2 separate regions of the Homo sapiens genome follow, and region 1 is linked to region 2. Evidence: promoter capture Hi-C in human tissues and cell types (Jung and others, 2019). All regions are on one chromosome and are shown on one strand. Each heading gives the region's core, a stretch centred on a gene start or on the middle of the fragment in contact. The rest is flanking DNA. Distances are from core to core; before and after follow the strand shown. Region 1 overlaps TTC3 (tetratricopeptide repeat domain 3). Region 2 holds the start of RIPPLY3 (ripply transcriptional repressor 3).

Region 1 (6,284 bases), core at 1,735-4,234, 190 kb before region 2:
TCACTTTACGGCCTCTGCTTTTTCAGCCTCCTGAGTAAGTACCTCAGGCTGACAGAAGGAACTTCCATCTTTGCTATTGTGTCTTCTACTGTTTCCTTTAATTCCCTTCTCCAGTCATCTGACTAAAAAACTACTCTAAAATAGTTTTACTGCTTCAGTTTGTGGTGTGTTGAGCACTTTGACCACCTGCTGCGACTGCACACACACACACACACACACATCCTTTATCCGTGGGAGATATGTTCCAAGACCTCCAGTGGATGCCTGAAACCACAGAAAATTCCAATCCCCACATATGCAATGTTTTCTCCTATACATATGTATCTATGATGAAGTTTAATTTATAAATTAGGCACAGTAAGAAATGAACAACTAGAACTAGTAATAAAATAGAACAATTACACTGTAGTAAAGATTATGTGAGTGTGGTCTCTCCCCCTTAAAATATCTTATTGTACTGCACTGTACTTGCCTATTTTCAGACCACGGCTGACCGTGGGTAACAAACTGTGGAAATCAAAATCACGAATAAGTGGGGGCACTTCTGTAGTCTTTGAGATTACCTTAAAACCGTAGTAACATTTTGCATTGCTGGGGCACCACTTCAATTTTATACCAGGCTATCCATTATTCATAACATAGATTAAGCAGTTCAGCAGGGAAAACTAATCTAAAATCTTTTTTTTTTTTTTTTTTTTTTGAGACGGAGTCTCGCTCTGTCACCCAGGCTGGAGTGCAGTGGTGCGATCTCGGCTCACTGCAAGCTCCGCCTCCCGGATTCACGCCATTCTCCTGCCTCAGCTTCCCAAGTAGCTGGGACTACAGGCACACACCACGATGCCCGGCTAGTTTTTTGTATTTAGTAGAGACGGGGTTTCACTGTGTTAGCCAGGATGATCTCAATCTCCTGACCTCGTGATCCGCCCACCTCGGCCTCCCAAAGTGCTGGGATTACAGGCGTTAGCCACCGCGGCCGGCCTAAATTCTTAAGGAATAGTCATTGCTTTAAATTAAATTAAATGCCATCAGACTAAAAATACGTACTGATAATACTTTGAATACACTTGAAAAAACAGAAGACAGATTTTGAAAATGAGCTTTCTTCAAATGAGCTTTCACTCTGTGAGTGCTCAGCATACCCAGAAGCCCCTCTATAGAGGAAACCCCATCGACAGCCTCAGTGGCCCATAAATCCACAAATGCCTCAAAAAATATACCAAGGAATGCAATTTATCTTCAACATCCTTATATGTATTCACATGAAAAATCTCTTAATTTAGCCTTAAGAAGTAAACTCTATCATCTCTGTGTGAACTCCTATAGTCGATCTTACGCAGGCACAAAGGAAAATTCTGACCCAGGCCCTAAAACGCCCTGAGATCCCTGGTCAGACTCCTCAGACACAGCATGGCGTGGCTGTTCTTTCCTGACGAAAGCACTCTTAAAATGTTAGCATGACATACATGTCCTAAGTTTTCCAGAAGAATGCATTTTTAAACTTCTCTAAGAAAGAATGGACAAGAGTGACAGTGAACTTCTCATTTTAGAATGTTCTTTATTCTGACAGTTGTTGGACAAATATAAGGCATGTTCACAAGTATCTGAAGTTATGTACAAAACACACTCATTCAACGGATGTTCCTCTTCTCCTTTTGTACTTGCTGCTGCAAACTGATCCTCATGCACGTTAACACCCATAGCGCTCAATTCTTATGGATATGCAGACAGTGTTTTGGGGACCACCGTGGAGAATCTGTTTCAAACTAAGGCGTGAGCTTCTAAGAACTAAGTCACTAAGACATCAGAACTCACAGTGAACAAAGGCAGAGGAAGGTGACCAAATCAGCTCATAAACTCATGACTCTAAGTTTCCAGTGGAACAAAGAACACATTGAAAAACATTTTTTGATCCTTCATGTTGGAGAGAAATGGAATGTGACCAGAATTCATGGTTCTATATTTACCACTGTCTAAAAGTCACAAAACAATATCTAATTTTTTCATGGTTTCTAATGCAGTTACAGTTTTGTTCTTAGGTCACAGTACAAGACTGCATGCATACTTTACACAAATATCAAACACAGAACGATTGTAACACAGATACCTCAGGGTTGTCTAAAGACACAGCTTCTCTTTTTGTGGTGGGGTGGGGAAGGAGAATGGTGGTGGCCATTTCCACACACAGCCTGTTGTGTGCTCAGCACGGCTGGATGCGGATCCCAAGCACTCGCTGACTGACTCACAGAAGAGGACAGAAGCTGCTAAGGAAGGCAGCGGAGTTCAAAGAGCAGGCTCCAACCGGGGGCTGGGATGACGGACACACAGCCTCGATTCCAGGGGGAAAAAGTCTTAGTCGATACTAATTAAAAAGTGTTAATGATTTTTGAAAATCAGATTACATCTATAAAAGATGAAAAGCAAACACTTAAAACAATCTAACGGGGGAACATAAAATAATAAAAAATCAAATGCAGATGGGATTTCACAAAGAGGAGATTTGAATCTTTTGGTCTAAATCAGCCAATATTTTAACATTAACTATAAATTATTAAAATATAGTTTGCTTATGCCCATCCTTAAAATGCAGAATCTTTGAGGAAAAATATAGGCATATCAGGAATACAGACTCTTGTAAAAAATTTAAAAAGTCAGTATCATCTCTCTTGTGGAGCTACCAGAACAGGTTTTTCAAACAGAAAAGGGGAACAAACGTGGGGAACAAACGTGGGGCGCTTGGCTATGTTAAGAATTCTTATCACTAGAATACTGCTTCGAGACGTTCATAGTACTTTCCAAAAGAAGCCACCCACCTCAAAGAGCCCTGCGCAGCCCCAGTGACCCATGAGTGTGGTAGCCGTCATTTTATTAGCCACTGTTGGCAATCATCAAAGTATTCACTCAGAGTGGGGAAATTACTTAATATCAGCGATATTAACGATTTCCATGTATTTAGCTTTGTGACACACAATGCACAAGGGTCTTCAAATGTTTGTTTTTTACACCAGTGGTAGAAAATTGTCATTCTTCGGATTCAACACACTGGTGGATGACACTTTAGTGAAGTGTGACTACCTAGAAGAGCAGGAAGGCAGCTCCTGATTCTGACTGGGCCAGCCTCTTCCAGAAGGTGACTCTTCTGTCAGGAGATCACGACCCTGGCAGGCCGGGCAAGCGCTCTGCCCTTTAAGCCACTGCTTAAAGCACTGAAAAGGAGAAAACAAAATCAGAAGATGCCTTCAGGACCATGAGGAAGCTTAGCTCCCCTGTGCTGCTGGGCTCCTTGGCAGGCGTGGCTCACTTGCCCTTGGTCTCTTGGGCCTGGAGCTGCCCAATACTCAGGGACACCAACACCCGCTCAGGCCAGAGTGTGGACAAAGCCCCAGCCGCAAACGATCCCACCTCAGGGTCAGATCCTGAGCGCTCTGGGCCTCCAACCTGGCCTCAGGGGGTGGTCTTGCCCTGATCCCCGGTTCCAGGCTCGGCTCTTCCACTTCAGCTGCGCCAAATTCCAGAGCCTGGCATTCTCGGCCCTATGACCCAATCACTCATTCTTAGCCCATCCCTTGGCCTGGCCTTGGCCCTTGGCTCTGGAACAGCCCTCCAGCCTGCACGCCACACTCCTGCTGCTGCTGCCCACACTGCAGAGGCTGTGGACAGTCAGCTAGCCCAAATATAAGACCCTGTACCCAAGGAGGCACACCACACCAGAGACTTGGCAAGTGGTCTCAATTCCTTTCAGTGAGCATGCTGTATTTATCCCGTTCCAAGGGATTAGCAAATCCCCATGGCAGAGACCTGATCTGTTCTAACCCAGCAGCAGGGGTGCACACAAATGCTCACGGTACCTAGAACACCATGATAGTTCACACACAGATCCCAGAACGGTACGAGCAGGACTGTCCCTGGGTCAGGCAGAAGGGACTCAGCTAGGTTTAGTTTTTCTCCTCTAAAATGTTAAACTGACTTCATATACTACACTAAGTCAAAAAAATGGTTTCACTGTTTCTCCATTTAGTCAAGTGTGTAAGAAATCACCTTTCAAGGAACTAATACTGCTTTGAATCTCAGCACTAACGAGTGGCTGGAGCTGCTGTTCCCCTCTCCCCACAAGGGATGGAAAGGACGGTCTCCAGAGCTGCCCTTCCTGCAGAGCTGGTGTGAGGACAGGGAGGCACTGAACACTGACACGGGAGGTTTGCAAAGAAAATAGTTTGAAAGCACAATAAATACTGATGACTAGAAAACAATTCCTTTCTTATTTTGAAAATATTTGAAGGTCCCAATGCATGCTGTAAGGATGGCCAAAAAGAGCTCTTACCCCTTTGTGATACTTGTGCCCACATTTGAGCACACGCACGTTTTTTGATTTGAACACCTCGTGGCATATTTCACAGGAACTTGCACCCAGTGCCTGTGGAAACAAACACACCTGAATAGTAAAGAATAACTACAGTTGTTTTTATGACACGAGTTCTTCCTTCAAGTGGCCTTCAAACATCTTCTGCCACAAAGGGTGGCAAATTATTCACAATTACAGCTAAACAGTCTGAGGAAACAACTTATTTTTTAATAGCATTTCTTAAGAAAAAATATAAAAATACAAAAAGAAAAGTATAAAGTTCTAATTTCCTCAGAGAAAAAACTGTTTTATGTGACCAGAAGATCCCCAGGTGAAGATTACCATACCTAAAGTACAGTATGGGATAATCACATGGCATGGTGTGAATTAATCATACATTTAATCATCTAACAGTTGAGGGTAGTAAATTCCAACACATCCACACAATGGGCTATTGTGTAGCCAAAAGGAAAATCATGACGGAAGCCCATAATCCCTGACATAGAAAGCTGGCCCCAACAGCCTGCTGAATGAAAGCAGCTAACAAGACAACATGTATCATATATAACTCACTTTTTAATAAAGGGGCTGCATGTATACATACATGCCTAGAAAAACAGTTAACAGTGGTTGCCTCAGGGTAAGGGAGATTTAATCTTTTTCTTTACTATTTTCTAGTTTCTATGAGCATGGATTACTTGTGCAAATCAAAACAAAACAAACGGATGGCTCATCCGGCAAACATCCATGGGCAGGGTTGGTGTCGGGTGCTGGACGCAGAGATGAATGGAGGGCTCTGGCCTCAGCGGCTCACAGTCTGGTGAGCATAGACAGTGCTTTCGATGTGAGAGCAGACCTGAGTGTCGCCTGGGACTCCAGGCACAGTTCTCCCTGCAGCTCACAGCACTTACCCTTACTGCACCATTAACTTCTACTCTAGCTCACTGCCTCTTAACTCTGAGCGCCTTGAAGGCACAAAATGAGTCCCATCTGGGTCTTTAGCAGCTGGCAGAAAACCTAGCTCAAACTCATGCTCTAAAAACCCCTGCTGAGGGAGTGGGCGAATGCAGGCAGCCCTGGCAGTGGGATCAAGTTCAGGGAGTGGCACTGGAGGCATCACCCCAAGGCTGAGAAGACCTTGAACTGCTGTTCAGGGTTTTGCTGTCTCTCCCAAGGCATGACTCGGCCCAGGAGGAGATGGGGCAGATGCTGCAGAAGGAGGGTTCATGCCCCTCCACTGCTGCCCATGACTCGAGGGTCAGGGAAGAAGAGGAAGTGCCAGACCGGGGAAGAGCCATTGAAGGCCTCTCCAATGCCCAGTGCAAAGCTCGGAGCCAGGTTTAGTTTGAAAAAAATATACACTTAACTTGACCGTTTTCTATTTCCTAGAAAAGATGGGCACAGTATATTTCTAACTAAAAGAAAAAAAGGACAACCACAATAAAAAAAAAAATGGAAAACAACCAAAACATTCAGCCCCTCAGAGAACATACAAAGTGTGACTAGCGTATTCAGTTTTGACTAATTCACATATCCATGCATTCAAGAGTTTAGAAAAATATATACCAAAGTGGTAATACTGATTACAGGGCGGGTTTTTAAATGCCCTTTTTATTTGTATTTTCTATTGTATGTAATACTTTGTAATTTGAAAATTAATACTTTTAATTTTAACAAACTATGGTTATCAAATTAGGTCCCAGTTTGAACACATATTTTTCTTTCTCATACAATCTGGTGAAGTTTCAGTAAGTCAGCTTTTATATCTTCGTTACTACAAACATCCATCATGAAGCAAAAACAGAACCCTCTTCTCCAGGCAATCACGGTCTATCTTGGGGTGGGTGTGGCCACACGACACATTGACACATCTGTGTAATTCCAAAGCCATGGTTACACAGAAGAAAATTATTCAAAAATGATTTCCCCAACTGTTCAAAATACC
Region 2 (5,715 bases), core at 2,743-5,242:
GAAACTGCCTCCCTGACAGTGCCCGCAAGTGGCCAGGAGGGAAACGCAACAGAGATCAAGAAAGGTGCAGGTAGGGGAGGGAGATAGCTCCCTAAGTGTTGTAGGGGCATGAAGTGGGTGAGGGTGACCGTGCTGCTCAGAGTACAGGGCCTTGAGGCCTTCCCTCTGCTTGAGGGTTTTTTGGGTTTTATTTTTGTTTTTGAGACAGGGTCTCATTCTGTCTCCCACGCTGGAATGCAGTGTCCCGATCTCAGCTCACTGCAACCTCTGCCTCCCAGGTTCAAGCGATCCTCCTGCTTCAGCATCCCGAGTAGCTAGGATTACAGGCGCACACCACCACTGCCTGGCTAACTTTTGTATTTTTAGTAGAGACAGGGTTTCACCATGTTCGTGAGGTCAGTCTCGAACTCCTGACCTCAGATGATCCGACCGCCTCGGCCTCCCAAAGTGCTGAGATTACAGGGTGAGCCACGCGCCCGGCCTACTTGAGGTTTTATTCTAGTTTTGCTTTGCTTGCCGGGAGCCCTGGTACAGGTCACCAGGCGTTAGTCCTCTTCACCGCCACTCCAGCCAATGGCATTTTTGAGAAATACAGAAGAGGGCTTGGGAGCTGGGGAATTGTCCTGCTTTGTCGGGCGAGGGCGCTGTTGAGCAAGAAGCGTTCCTTCCCTGCGCTGGGCAGCTCTCGTCGGTGGACTGCAGGGAACCCAGGGCGGTGCACAGTACCAGAGCACAGACTGGCGCTGGTCGCTCTGCGCAACCAGCTGGGCTCTGCAAAGAGCGGGCTCCGGGCTAGGGGTGAGGATTGGCGGGCTCTACAGCCCCCAGGGAACAACCACTCTTCCCACACCCACATCCGTGGACAGAACTACTTCAGCGTGACAGGCTACCTGCTGATCAGCGAGAAAGTTAACGTTTAACATTTCTCTGCAAGTAAATTTTTCTCACAAACGGCCTTATCAAAACAGAAAACAAAACCCAAAACCATCTGTCTTACTTAGGGAGCGTGCTATCGTATTTTTATTCCTGCAAGAAACTGATAGGCTCCACATCCATTTCATTTAAAAGAAAACTGGATAATTGTAAACATCTATATTCTCACACAAGCACCTTTAAATTTTATGTTTAAGAACTAAGTTTGAATGCAAAAGAAGGGATTTTACATTATTTAGATATATGTATAAATAATCGGGGACTAAAAATCATCTCTTGTTAATTGATTTATCTTTTATCTGCTTCCTTCTTTGAAGTAAATTAAAATTCCCAATATTCAGATTAATTTAATAAAGTCGTGTAAATATCAAAATACGGTGAAGGTCTGTTTTCCCACAATCAAGTTTTCTTACCATATTACAAATAACTGCACGTTAGTCCATATAACACGTGTTACGTAAATTCAATACATGGTCTTTCCCAGCCTAATTCTTCAGTGTTTTAAGAGTCATCAAAAAAAAAAAAATTAAGTAAAAGTCATCAATTTATATTTTAAAATGTAACAAAGGAAAGGTAAATTCTATGAAAGCAAGTCATTACATCAGTAAGTATAAAGCAACTGAGTTACCAATGCAGAGTAACAAAAGAATGGTGGAGGTCATTAATCTTGCCCACAAAGCCCTCTGCTTGAGTGTATTTGCTCAGACAACATGAGATACCCCAGGAGTGCTTGACGGGGCTGAAAGTGCTTCAGAAAGGGCCAGACGCGGGGTGGGGGCTTTTAACGGCAACTCTGGGCACCTCAGATGGGGCTCAGTCCTATTTGCTCTGTGGCACCGGCCCAACGCTAATGGTGCTCTAAGCTTTTCTCCAAGGCAAGCGATAGTGGCAGCCTCTCCCCTCCCCTCCCGACCTGTTGCTTTGCAGAAGAAACCGCAACAGGGAGGACATTCCTTATAATTCCCATGAAACGACTACGGTTTTTTTTTTTTTTTTTTTTTTTTGAGATGAGTCTTGCTCTGTCGCCCACACTGGAGTGCAGTGGCATGATCTCGGCTCCCTGCAACCTCCGCCTCCCGGGTTCAAGCGATTCTCCTGCCTCGGCCTCCTAAGTAGCTGGGATTACAGGCGCCTGCCACCATGCCCAGCTAATTTTTATATTTTTAGTAGAGACGGGGTTTCGCCATCTTGGCCAGGCTGGTCACGAACTCCTGACTTCAGGTGATCCACCCGTCTCGGCCTCCCAAAGTGCTGAGATTACAGGCCCGAGCCACCGCGCCCAGCCTACGATTATGCTTTTATAGTGGGTATGCTTTTTTAGGAAGGAGAAGCCACCAGGAGCCCAATCTATAATGCGAGTCAGGTCTGATTAACACCTTACTCATTCAGGTTCCAACTCCCAGACCCCGAGGCGCTCCTGGGTTAGACGCCCAAGGGACGGCCCTGCGCAGAAGGCCATTCACGGTCCCTGTATTTTAAAAGACGATGCCACTTTCTGGCTGGAAGGGTTACCTACAACGCCCGCACTGAACCTTACCGGCCTTCCAGTTCTGGTCAGCTCAGCATCTCCAGGTGTCTGGATCCAAGGTCGCCACGGCGCGGGGCTGGAACGGCAAGCGCCAGGAGAGAGTGAACCCTGGGCACTTCTGCTGCCTTCAAACTATGCCATGAGAGCTATTCTTAGTTCCAGTGTCTGCCTGAAAAAGAGGCACCGGACCCCCCAGGAACTTTCCCTGGAGTTCTCAGGGCTGTGGATAAATTACTGTCATTTGTGTTTTTTCTCTCCTGCTACGTCCCCAGTTCTCTGTCTCCAGTTAAGCTTTGAGAAGGGAGGTCCCGAATCTCACACAATTATCAGGGAACCCATTAGTTGAGAGATTTCTCTCCCTGCAAATCCTGGCTGAATTGTTCAATTCGGGGTTCCCCAACTATAGCTGTCTACTTTGTCCCCGGTTAATTTCAATCACACCACCTTGGTCACGGAAGGAGATTGATTCTACAGAGATGATTTTACAGAGTTGTAGGATGAAAAACAAACAAACAAAAAAAGGGGGCTGGGCGCGGTGGCTCACACCTGTAATCCCAGCACTTTGGGAGGCTGAGGTTACTGGATCACTCGAGGTCAGGAGTTCGAGACCAGCCTGGCCAACATGGCGAAACCCAGTCTCTACTAAAAATACAAAAATTAGCCGGGCGTGGTGGCAGGCGCGTGTAATCCCTGCTACTCAGGAGGCTGAGGCAGGAAAATCGCTTGAACCCGGGAGGCGGAGGTTCCCGTGAGCCGAGATCACGCCATTGCACTCCAGCCTGGGCGACACAGTGAGACCCTGTCTCAAAAAAAAAAAAAAAAAAAAAAAAAAGAGGGAATCTTTCTCCTGCCTGGCTACCTGGCCCATCCGGCCTACCCGGTCCCTTCCCTACCTCCCTGGCTAATTTGATTTCCTACAACGTTACTGTCTTTAAAAGGGTTGGTGCCCAGGGACAGCGAACGCCGAGCCCCCAATCCAGGGACAACAGAAACGGCTACCGAGAAAGTAGCAAGGTGAGAGATTGCCTTTGCAAGGCTGGCTTAGGAGCCCGAGACTGCAGTGTCCCCGGCTGGCTAACTGAGATCTCCTCTACACGGAAGCGTCGGCCCCTTTCCTGGCCAGCTACATCCTGGGCCTCCGCACTTCAGAGCTGTGCGTTGGAACCGGAGAACTGAGCGCCCCTCCCGGGAACCCGGCTGCCGGCTCAGGAGCTTGCTTGGCGTCGCCGTCGAGCTCCGGAGCTCCGCTGGGGATCGGGGGTTCAGCAGCGCCCCAGCCTCCCGCTCGCTGCGCTCCCCGCACCGCCACCGCGCACGCCTCTCAGCGCGTCCACCGGGGCGCGGGGCCACCCTCACCTCTCCGGCCCGCGCGGTGGCGGAGGCCTCCAGGGAGCGTCCCCGGGGCAGTGACAGCCGCGCCCCCGCGCCTTCCGGGCTCCGGCCGCCGCTTCGGGCTCCATGGTGCCGGCGGAGCCCGCGCCCCTTGCTGCGGCGCCGGCCTACGAGCGCGCCTAGATCCACTCGGGCTAACGCGCTCACCTACCCGCGCGCCAGGTTTAAAAACGGGGGCGGGGCGGCGCGGGCAAGCGCTGGGAGGGGGCAGGACCCGAGGAGCTCCGTGAGGGGTGCGGAGGGGGCCGCAGGGTACGAAGGAAAAGCCCGGGTCGGAGGAGCGGAGGGGACCAGAGAAGTTCCGGGAGGGGACCAGGGAGCCGGGGATGGGGAGGAGACGAGAAAAGCTCAAGGAGGTGGCGCCGGGTGTCAAGGAGGGGGGTCCGGCAGGCCCGGGCAAGGGTGGGGACGGGACAAAGAAAAGTCGGGGAGGGGGCACCAGAGAAGGGGTGACCAGAGGATGGAGGTACCAGGGATTGGGGCCACGAGCTCGGGCTGGAGACAGCGGGAAGTGACCCAGGAACCCGGGAGAGGAAAGCGAGGCCCGCGGGCTAGGGGCGTTTCCGTCGGGCGCACTCCCTCGGGGACTGGGGGGACCTGCGCTCACCTGCTGGGCTTCCCCTGCCGGATGTGGGATGTGAGGAGTCCCGGCTTCTCCGTCCCTCTGTGGTCCCCGCGGCCTCGGGCTTTGGTCCTGTGCGAGCATCGGATTCCCTGGGTTTCCGGAGAATCTCGCTTCCACCGCCTTAGAGCGGCAGCGGGTCTTCGGGGACATCTACCGAATCCTCGGGTCCGCGTGCACCGGCCTTGCCTTCGGTGCTGGACAGTGGGCTCCCGGACGCCCCGACGCCAGGGCTCGAACCCGTGGCGAAGCGGGTGGGGTGGGGCGCGGCGACCCTTCCAGGAGACAGAAGGCCAGGAATGGAACCGAGCAAGAGGGGTGCTACGAGCGCACCCTTCCCACCGATGGCGGCCTTGGAAAGAATGCGAATTTTTAATAAAGCCTGGAGCGGCGGGCTTCTCCTTCGGTTAGCCCCAGCCAGGCTTAGAAAGGGCCTCCCGACCAGCAGAAGCGACCTTGCCCGACCCTGGGGACACTTCCCCGGGCGTCGCTGGAGCGCCGCTGCCACCATCACCAGCGCACGGCCAGGGTGGGAGAAAGCGGTTTCACACGTAGAGCACTGCGACAGAACACCGAAGGCGCTGGAGGGCCTTCAACTACCCCGGGCTCCTCAGGGGTAGTTACTTTATATAATTTAAGTTACTGTGATGGATGTTAAAAAATCGAAGAACTAGGCCAGGCGCGGTGGTTCTCACCTGTAATCCCAGCACTTTGGGAGACCGAGGCAGGTGGATGGATCACTTGAAGTCAGGAGTTCGAGATCAGTCTGGCCAATATGGTGAAACCCGTCTCTACTAAAAATAAAAAAATTAGCCGGGCGTGGTGGCAGGCTCCTGTAATCCCAGCTACTTGGGAGGCTGAGGCAGGAGAATGGCTTGAATCTGGGAGGCGGAGGTTGCAGTGAGCCGAGAGTGTGCCACTGCACTCCAGCGTGGGAGACAGAGAGAGATTCCCTTTCCAAAAAAAAAAAAAAAAATCGAAGAACTTCCGCAAGGCGCGGTGGTTCATGCCTGTAATCCCAGCACTTTGGGAGGCCCAGGCGGGTGGATCACTTGAGGTCGGGAGTTTGAGACCAGCCTGGCCAACATGATGAAACCCCGTATCCACTAAGAAAAATACAAAAAAATAGCCGGGTGTGGTGGCGGGTGCCTGTAATCCCAGCTACTTGGGAGGCTGAGGCAGGAGAATCGCTTGAACTCGGGAGGCAGAAGTTGCAGTGAGCCGAGATCGCGCCAGTGCA

The links. Contacts are between HindIII fragments. The study calls those that stand out against the background at their distance.
Region 1: a fragment that was not itself captured here is called in contact with the fragment with the promoter of RIPPLY3 in region 2 in 1 of the 25 tissues and cell types used here (mesendoderm cells).

Annotation. Positions count from the first base shown.
Region 1 is chr21:37,198,359-37,204,642 of GRCh38, reverse strand. TTC3 (tetratricopeptide repeat domain 3) reads right to left here. Exons shown (of 46, transcript NM_001330683.2): 45 at 4,319-4,411; 46 at 1,536-3,203. The coding sequence ends at 3,069. Among named protein-coding and RNA genes, the nearest start is that of DSCR9, 7.0 kb to the left of the region's middle. The HindIII fragment of the contact is 4,158 bases long and covers 906-5,063 here.
Region 2 is chr21:37,004,979-37,010,693 of GRCh38, reverse strand. RIPPLY3 (ripply transcriptional repressor 3) reads right to left here and starts at 3,992. Exons shown (of 4, transcript NM_018962.3): 1 at 3,818-3,992; 2 at 2,471-2,537. The coding sequence starts at 3,921. RefSeq lists enhancers at 541-600, 4,151-4,651 and a silencer at 3,818-3,927. The HindIII fragment of the contact is 12,344 bases long and covers 2,275-5,715 here.